3 separate regions of the Homo sapiens genome follow, and all the other regions are linked to region 2. The links are contacts of gene promoters, found by promoter capture Hi-C in blood cells and fetal thymus (Javierre and others, 2016). All regions are on one chromosome and are shown on one strand. Each heading gives the region's core, a stretch centred on a gene start or on the middle of the fragment in contact. The rest is flanking DNA. Distances are from core to core; before and after follow the strand shown. Region 1 overlaps IZUMO2 (IZUMO family member 2). Region 2 holds the start of GPR32 (G protein-coupled receptor 32). Region 3 overlaps MYH14 (myosin heavy chain 14).

What was found. Contacts are between HindIII fragments. The CHiCAGO score rates a contact against its expected background, and 5 or more counts as called.
Region 1: a fragment that was not itself captured here is called in contact with the fragment with the promoter of GPR32 in region 2 in 1 of 17 cell types (total B cells); the score reaches 5.1 in total B cells.
Region 3: a fragment that was not itself captured here is called in contact with the fragment with the promoter of GPR32 in region 2 in 8 of 17 cell types (total B cells, naive B cells, activated CD4 T cells and 5 more); the score reaches 12.2 in total B cells.

Annotation. Positions count from the first base shown.
Region 1 is chr19:50,152,121-50,155,018 of GRCh38, reverse strand. IZUMO2 (IZUMO family member 2) reads left to right here. Exons shown (of 7, transcript NM_152358.3): 6 at 293-419; 7 at 2,368-2,471. The coding sequence ends at 2,410. Among named protein-coding and RNA genes, the nearest start is that of IZUMO2, 9.7 kb to the left of the region's middle. The HindIII fragment of the contact is 1,357 bases long and covers 968-2,324 here.
Region 2 is chr19:50,769,101-50,772,028 of GRCh38, reverse strand. It overlaps GPR32 (G protein-coupled receptor 32), which reads right to left and starts at 1,565. Exons shown (of 1, transcript NM_001506.2): 1 at 297-1,565. The coding sequence starts at 1,428. The coding sequence ends at 358. The HindIII fragment of the contact is 17,473 bases long and covers 1-2,928 here.
Region 3 is chr19:50,245,772-50,248,596 of GRCh38, reverse strand. It overlaps MYH14 (myosin heavy chain 14), which reads right to left. Exons shown (of 43, transcript NM_001145809.2): 12 at 1,475-1,593. Among named protein-coding and RNA genes, the nearest start is that of MYH14, 44 kb to the right of the region's middle. The HindIII fragment of the contact is 6,027 bases long and covers 1-2,825 here.

The DNA of each region.
Region 1 (2,898 bases), core at 397-2,896, 620 kb after region 2:
TGTGATAACTGTGATATGCGGGGTGGACTGTCAACTCCATGAGTCCAGTTTGCCAGTTTGGTTCCCGGCTATATCCCAAATGCCTACAATGGCGCCTGAGACAGAGCACTAGAGGAATGGATAAATGGAGACTCAGACCCCAGGAGAGGGCAGGGAACAAGCAGGAAGAGAAGAAGAGAGAGCGCCCCACCCCCACCCCTGCCCCAGGCTGCTGAATGAACAGGTGGGGTGGGTATGGGGCTAAGGAGGGGTGGTGACGTGGAGGTCGGGGCTGTTTCCCCACCCGCCCCAGTCGACCGGCAACCCCGCGTGGCCCTGCAGTACCAGATGGACAGCAAATACCCGAGGAACCAGGCGCTGTTGGGCATCCTCATTTCTGTGTCTCTGGCTGTCTTTGTCTTCGTGGTCATCGTGGTCTCGTGAGTCATCCTTGCCCCCTCCTCAGTCCCCCGTGGAACCCACTGGGCCCCTCAAAAATGGCGACTCCCCTGGATGGGTCACTGTGTACTTTGGGAGTCTCCTCTTCAGTCACTTTAGTCTCTGTCTCTCTTTTTCTCTCTGTCTCTCTCCTCCCTCTTCTCCCTCCCGCCCCCTGCCCCGTACCTTTCTCTCATCTTATTTCTGTCTTTCTTCCTCATTTTCCTTTTTCTCCACCTCTGGGCCACATTACAACTTTCCCGGGTCCTCAGCACTTTTGCCTTTGTGGGCCTCTTCTTACATTAAAAAAAAAAAAAAAAAAAAAAAAAAAAAAAAACGCTAAAAGTTATATTTGGTGGATGCATTGGTAGAAAGACAAATATCATCCAAGTTGGCTTCATTATGTTCTATGCATCATCATAATTACTGTTGTTATATTCATTTATCTTCTTCTGGCTTTTAAAGATACTACAGTGAAAACATTTCCATGGACCCCAGGCCCTGTGCCTAGGGAGGAAGTGGCCCTCACCTTCCTCTCCCCCTCTAAGCTTATCTCGCTGCCTCTTTATGCTTGTGCCCTCCCCCTCCCCCCCAGCCCCTTCTCCGGCCCCTCTCTTCCCCTCTCCGTCTCAATTTCTCTCTCTCTCTCTCTGCCTCCTCCAAGTACCCAATTAATCTCCTTTCCCTAACGCCTCAGTTTCTTCATATGCAAAAAGGGAGTAATGCCATCACCTCCCACTGGCGGGGGTGGTGATAACTGAATCAGTGAACGCTCTTTTTTTTTTTTTTCTTGAGATGGAGTCTCGCTCTGTGGCCCAAGCTGGAGTGCAATGGCGCGATCTTGCGACCTTGGCTCACTGCAACCGCTGCCTCTCAGGTTCAAGCGATTCTTCTGCCTCAGCCTCCTGAGTAGCTGGGACTACAGGTGCCCACCACCAAGCCTGGCTAATTGTTATATTTTCATTAGAGACGGGGTTTCGCCATGTTGGCCAGGCTGGTCTCAAACTCCTGACTTCAGGTGATCCACCTGCCTCATCCTCCCAAAGTGCTGGGATTACAGTCATGAGTCACCGCGCCTGGCCAGTGAACGCTGTTAATAACACTTAGCGCATGGGGAGTGCTCCGTGCAGGCTACCTCTCACTGTGAACTTGCTCAGCCTCTCTTCCAACTCTCTCTCCTCATTTCTCTGTCTCCCTGTGTATTCATTTCCTATTGCTGCTGTAACATCACCACAAATTGGGTGACTTAAAGCAAAAGAAATGTATTCTCTGGGTTCTGAAAGCAGAAGTCTGAAATCAAGAGGTTGGCAAAGTTGGTTCCTTCCAGAGCCTCTGAGAGTGAATCCACCCCATGCCTGTGTCCTAGCTGCTGGTGGCTGCTGGCATTCCTTAGCTCCCTTCTAATCCCTTCCTCTGTCTTCACATGGTTTTGTTTTCTGTGTGTCCATCTCAAATCTCCCTCTCCTTTCTCTTCTAAGGACACCTGTCTTTAGATGTAGGGCCCATCCTAAATCTCATGTCACCTTAACTTAATTACATCTGCAAAGACCGTGTTTCCAATTAAGGTCACATTCCCAGGTCCTAGGAGTTGGGACTTGGATATATCTTTGGGGTGGGGGACACGCTGTAACCCACTATACCTGCTTCCACTATACCCTGTCTCTACCTTATCTCTCTCCATTTCTGCCTGTGTCTCCTCTTGTCTTTTTGGACTCTTTCTGTTCCCACATTTGACCATCACCCCTGGTCCCAGCTCTTCTCTCCTCTCTCCTCACCAACTCCGGTTGGCAGAGAACCCTGAAAATCTGCCCAGATGCCCATGACGTCACTGGATGAGCCAAATCAGGCCAAAGATTGTAGGAAAGTTATGGGGAGGGAAGTTATGGGTCTCTTGATCTGGAAAAGCTTGAAATTCTCATTCTAATCTACAGGCTTTTTCTCTCTGACCAGGGCTTGTACATACAGACAAAACCGAAAACTCCTGCTGCAGTAGGACGGTGGTTTGGGGGTAAGGAGAAAGGAAAATAAATTTAATAAAATTGGTGACAAATCCATCAATGTCTCTGTCCATTTCCTGGGGACCCTCCCCCTAGTTGGTGTCCAACTCTGTTTCTCTACCTGACTGGGTGCTCCTCAAAGGCTGGGACCAGATCCCACTCATCTGTAGACACCCATTATCCTAATTCAAGGTAGAAGTGACTTGGACCTTCAAAAAGGATGGACAGCATATTGTAAGGGTTTGAAGTGACAACCACTTATCCTCTGGGAAGGAAATGCATCCGAAAGGACATGACTCAGTGCAACCCTCGAGGATGGTTAAATAGAGGAAGAGCAGTGGTCAATGTGGAAGGTACAGGTTTTCTTCTCTATCTGAACTACAATTCTTCACCCTCTGTGCACCTGAATACTAGATTCGAATACATTTTCTTTCTTTTTCTTTTCTTTTTTTTTTTTTTTTTTGAGACAGAGTCCTGCTCTGCC
Region 2 (2,928 bases), core at 316-2,815:
ATACAAAAATTATCTGGGCGTGGTGGCACGTGCCTGTAATCCCAGCTACTCGGGAGGCTGAGGCAGAATTGCTTGAACCAGAAAGTCAGAGGTTGCAGTGAGCCGAGATCGCGCCACTGCAGTCCAGCCTGGTGACAGAGCAAGACTCTATCTCAAAAAAAAAAGGGGGGGGGGGCGGGGAAGAATGGACACTGGGGAGTAAGTAGCTGTCTCTACCACAGAGCTTTAGATGAGGGGTTGCTGGAAGACTTCCTGAAAGAAGAGGCAGGATTTGGCAGGGTTTTAGAAGCCAGTCAAGGTAAGAGGCCACAAGCAAACTAAGAAGGACGGCTTCCAGCTTCCAGCTGAAGTCTTCCATCATTCCCGGGGGGCGTTGCCACGGGGACAGGATGACAGAAACTCCTCCTCTCCAAACGCCCTCGCCAGGGCAGAAGTCAAAGACTGGAAAAACTTTTCTTGGAAATCTCTGCCAACGAAGACGTAGAGGAAGGGGTTGAGGCTGCTGTTGACACAGCCCAAGGCAAAGCTAGCCTGGAGGATGAGCAGCATCCGGGGGTGGTAGATTTCCTTGAGCATCACCCGTCGCCACAGATGGACCAACAGCACCACGTTAAACGGGGACCAGAAGATAAAGAAAGCGCTCACCAGCACCAGCAGCAGCCTCTTGGGCCGGTTGGCATGGACCCAGCCCTCCCGCAAGAGCTTGGCCCGGATGAGGTGGGCGCAGGTGCCTATGATTGCTAAGGGCCCCAGGAAGCCCAGCAGGAAGTGGCCAATGGTCCCTATAATGTGTCCCTCCACGACCCCTTCAATCCAAATCTGGGCAGTCTCATTGTCAGAGTTGAACGCCAAGTAGCAGTGCGTACAGCCATTCCATTTTCTGGTTGTCCGGAATTTCAGGTGCGCAGAGCACAAGGCGGCGGCCAGGAGCCACACCCCAAAGGCCAGCCAGCTCGCCCGCTGCACAGTGCGGTGGTTCAGGGCCCAGACGGGGTAGAGGACAGAGATGCAACGGTCCACAGAGATGAAGACAAGGAGGCAGTTACTGGCAAAGTAGCTGAGGAACACAAAGGTGATGTAGAGTTTGCAGGCCCACTCTCCGAGGAGCCACTGCCTGGAGACAATATAGTACATGGCAATGGGCAGAGACAGTGAGAGCATGAAATCGGCAAGGGCCAGGTGGAAGAAGCAGACGGTGGAGACCGTGCGTGCCATACGGAAGACAGTCATCCACAGCACCAGCCCATTGCCCAGCACTCCGACGACAATGGACGCAGACAGGATAACCACAGTCAGTGGGCGGAGGGACCCCACCTCCTCAGACAGGCATCCGGAAGAGTTCATCTTCCTGGAACAAGAGCGATCACGTGTCAGGACCCCAGGTTGCCTGTCACTGCAGCCTCTGGTCCCCTCCGAGACCCCATTCATGATTTCTCCATTCCATAATTTTTATGGAATGCTTATTATTATTATTCTTTTAGAGACAGCGTCATGCTCTGTCACCCAGGCTGGAGTGCAAAGGTACAATCACAGATCACTGCAGCCTCCACCTCCTAGGCTCAAGAGATCCTCCCCCCTCAGCCTCCTGGAGTAGCTGGGACTACAGGCACTTACCACCATGCCTGGCTAATTTTTTTACCTTTTTTTTTTTTTTTTTTTTTTGACACAGAGTCTTGCTCTCTCTGTCACCCAGGCTGTAGTGCAATGGTATGATCTCGGCTCACTGCAACCTCCACCTCCAAGGTTCAAGCAATTTTCCTGCCTCAGCCTCCCAAGTAGCTGGAACTACAGGCACATGCCACCACACCTGGCTAATTTTTCTGTTTTTAGTAGAGACAGGGTTTTACCATGTTGGCCAGGCTGGTCTTGAACTACTGACCTCGTGACCCGTCCACCAGCCTCCCAAAGTGCTGGGATTATAGGTGTGAGCCACTCTGCCAGGCCTTAAATTCTTTTTTGTAGAGATGGGGTTTTGCTGTGTTGCCCAGGCTGGTCTTGAACTCCTGGCTTCAAGTGATCCTCCCACCTCAGCCTCCCAAAGTGCTGGGATTACAAGTGTGAGCCATTGAGCCCAGCCTGAATGCTTTTTATGACACAATAATATTGTTCTTTTTTTTTTTTTTTTTTTGAGACAGAGTCTCCTTATGTCACCCAGGCTGCAGTGCAATGGCACGATCTCGGCTCACTGGACACTATAATATTGTTCTAAGTACTGGACATAACTCGTGTAACAAAACAAGCCCTCATGGAACTTACATCCCAGTGAGAGATGTCAGGTGTAATACATATAATAAATTTACTTCATGATATACTGCTTTAGAAGACTACAAGTGTTATGGAAAAATAATAAATGAAATGGAGGGGCCAGGTGTGGTGGCTCATGCTTGTAATCACAACACTTTGGGAGGCTGAGGCAGAAGGATTGCTTGAAGCCAGGAGTTCCAAACCAAGGTGGGCAACATAGTGAGACCGTCTCTACAAAAAATAAATAATTACAAGTTTTTGTGGCCATGCACAGTGGCTCACGCCTGTAATCCCAGCACTTTGGGAGGCTGAGGTAGGCGGATCACCTGAGGTCAGGAGTTCGAGATCAGCCTGCCCAGCATGGCGAAACCCCGTCTCTACTAAAAATACAAAAAACATTAGCTGGGTGTGGTGGCAGCCACCTGTAATCCCAGCTACTCATGAGGCTGAAGAATCACTTAAACTTGGGAGGCGGAGGTTGCAGTGAATCAAGATCGCGCCACTGCACTCCAGCCTGGGTAACGAGAGCGAAACTCCGTCTCAAAAAAATAAAAATAAAATAAAATTTAAAAATTAGCCGTGAGATGGGCGTAGTGGCTCATTCCTGTAATCCCAGCACTTTGGGAGGCTGAGGCTGGTGGATCACTTAAGTTCAGGAGTTCGAGACCAGCCTGGCCAACATGG
Region 3 (2,825 bases), core at 181-2,680, 520 kb after region 2:
AATGGGAACTAACAACAGTACCCCAGCTGAGATTGAACCCGGGTCAGTGTGGCTCCCAGACTCCTCATCTCCCCCACGGGGTCTTCATCCAGGTACCTCACTGCCCAGCCTGGGGCCAGCAGAGGCCTCTGCCCAAAAGCTGGATTCTGAAACCCTCCCTGGCCTGTGGTCGCTCCACTCCACCCTCCCTGCTCATGGTGTGAGCTCCCACGATTGCCAAGACTCTGGATGCAGCCTCCTTAGGTCTCCCCGCCTCTACCTGCATCCCTGAACCCAATTCTCCATGCAGCAGCCAAGGGGATCTTTCTATGAAAGACAAACTGAATCAAGTCACTCCCTGGCTTAAAACCTCAATGGCCTCCTATGTAGTTTGAATAAAACTCACCTCCTTACTGTGGCCCCTAAGACCCTGCATGATCTGCCCCTTGCTGACATTTCTGACTGTGGATTCACCCACCCTCTCTCCCTTGCTCTTCAGCCTCACTGACCTGACCTCCTTCAATTTTCTTTTTTTCTTTTCTTTTTTTTTTTTTTTTTGAGACAGAGTCTCGCTCTGTCACCCAGGCTGAAGTGCAGTGGCGTGCTCTCAGCTCACTGCAACCTCTGCCTCCTAGGTTCAAGTGATCCTCGTGTCTCAGCCTCCCAAGTAGCTGGGACTACAGGCGTGTGCCACATACCCAGCTAATTTTTGTATTTTAGTAGAGACGGAGATTCACCATGTTGCCCAGGCTGATCTTGAACTCCTGAGCTCAATCTGTCCGCCTCAGCCTCCCAAAGAGCTGGGATTACAGGCATGAGCCCCCACACCCGGCCTCACTGACCTGCTTAATGTTCCCAACTCCCCAAGCCTGCTCCACCCCCAGGGCCTTTACACTTGCGGTTCCGTCTGCCTCGAACCATCTAGGTCTCATCTCGAATGTTTCATCCTTAGAGCTTCCTTAGAGAGGACTTTCCTGACCAACAAAACCTCCCCTTCACAGGTGCTCTCACCATCTAAAAGCATCCTGGGTTTTTGTTTTTTGTTTTTCTAGGATACCATGTTGCATTTACATCCTGTTTTTTTAAATTATTATTAAATTTTTTAATTTTTTTAGAGACAGAGTCTCAGTCTGTCACCCAGGCTGGAGTGCAGTGGCGCAATTACAGCTCGCTGCAGCCTCAAACTCCCGGGCTCAAGCAATCCTCCCACCTTGGCCTCCCAAAGTGCTGGGATTACAGGTGTGAGCCACCACTCCCAGACACATCCTGTTGAACTTTTATTATCCATTTCCTTACTATAACTTGAGGTCCCTGAGGGCCTGGTTATTTGTTTCGATGACTGCTTTTACGCCTGGCACCTAGACCAGGATCGGTAACGGAGCGGGCACTCAGCAAAAGTCTGTTGAGTGGTGGGAAAAACAGCATACACTGTTTAAAGACCCAGGGCCGGGGTGCGCGGCTCTTTCTGTGCCTGCCCACCGCCAGCCCCGCCTACCTGTTCCTTAGTCTGGGCTTTCTGCACATAGTCTCGGCCAACTTTGATGCGAGGGGTGAGCAAGGCTCGGGAGAAATCCGTCACCCCCAGTCCCAAGAGGCGGCAGAGCTTCTGTGCAGCTGAGGGCGAGAGGCACCAAGATTCCATCAGCACTGGGAAGAGGTGCTTGCTGCCCAGCAAGGGAGAGGGTACCGTTTCCCACACTGTTGGGGGAGCAGAAGACGGGCCCCGCCTTTCCCAGGAGAGGCATTACGAGTCCCAAAAGTGTGTACATTCTCTGCCCAACTATTTTTTTTCCAGGAACCAGCACTGGCAAAATAACCCTGCATGTGAGCAAAGACCGTGCCACAAGGATGTTCAGCGCAGTGTTGTTTATAATCGGAGAAAGCTAGGAAACAACCTCAGTGCCCAAGAAGCGGGAATTGGTTAGATGGGTCGGGCTTCATTCATTTGAAAGAATGTTCTGATGGTTTTTTTGTTTGTTTTGTTTTGTTTTGTTTGAGACAGAGTTTGGCTCTTATCACCCAGACTGGAGTGCAGTGATGCAATCTCAGCTCACTACAACCTCCGCCTCCCTGGTTCAAGTGATTCTCCTGCCTCAGCTCCTGAGTAGCTGGGATTACAGGTGCCTGGCCCATTTGAAAGAATGTTCTGCAGTCACTAAAAGCTACACTGGAGGCGGGGCACGGTGGCTCACGCCCGTAATCCCAGGGAGGCCCTTCGGGAGGCCAAGGTGGGCGGATCACCTGAGGTCAGGAGTTTGAGACCAACCTGGCCAACATGGTGAAACCCCGTCTGTACTAAAAATACAAAAATTAGCCCGACATGGTGGTGCGTGCCTGTAATCCCAGATACTTGGGAGGCTGAGGCAGGGAGAATCGCTTGAACCCAGGAGGTAGAGGTTGCAGTGAGCTGAGATGGTGCCACTGCACTCCAGTCTGGGCGAGACTTCATTTAAAAGAGGAAAGATGGAAGGAAGGAAGGAAGGAGGGAAGGAAGGAAGGAAGGAAGAAAGGAAGGGAGGGAGGGAGGGAGGGGGGGAATCCCAGTAGAGTTCTATCTAAAAGAAGGAAGGAGGGAGGGCAGGAGGAAGGGAGGGAGGGAGCGAGGGAATCCCAGTACAGTTCTATCTAAAAGAAGGAAGGAAGGAGGGAGGGAAGGAGGGAGGGAGGGAGGGAGGGAGGGAGGGAAGGGATCCCAGTAGAGTTTCTTGTGAATAACCTGAAAAGTTATCCCGAAAGCATTCAGGGGAAAAAAAAGCAGGTTTCAAAACAGTTTGCAGGGTCTGACTCCAGTTTTGTAAAACAAATGAGTAAATGTGTGTGCACGGCACACCTGCTGGGTGCCTATG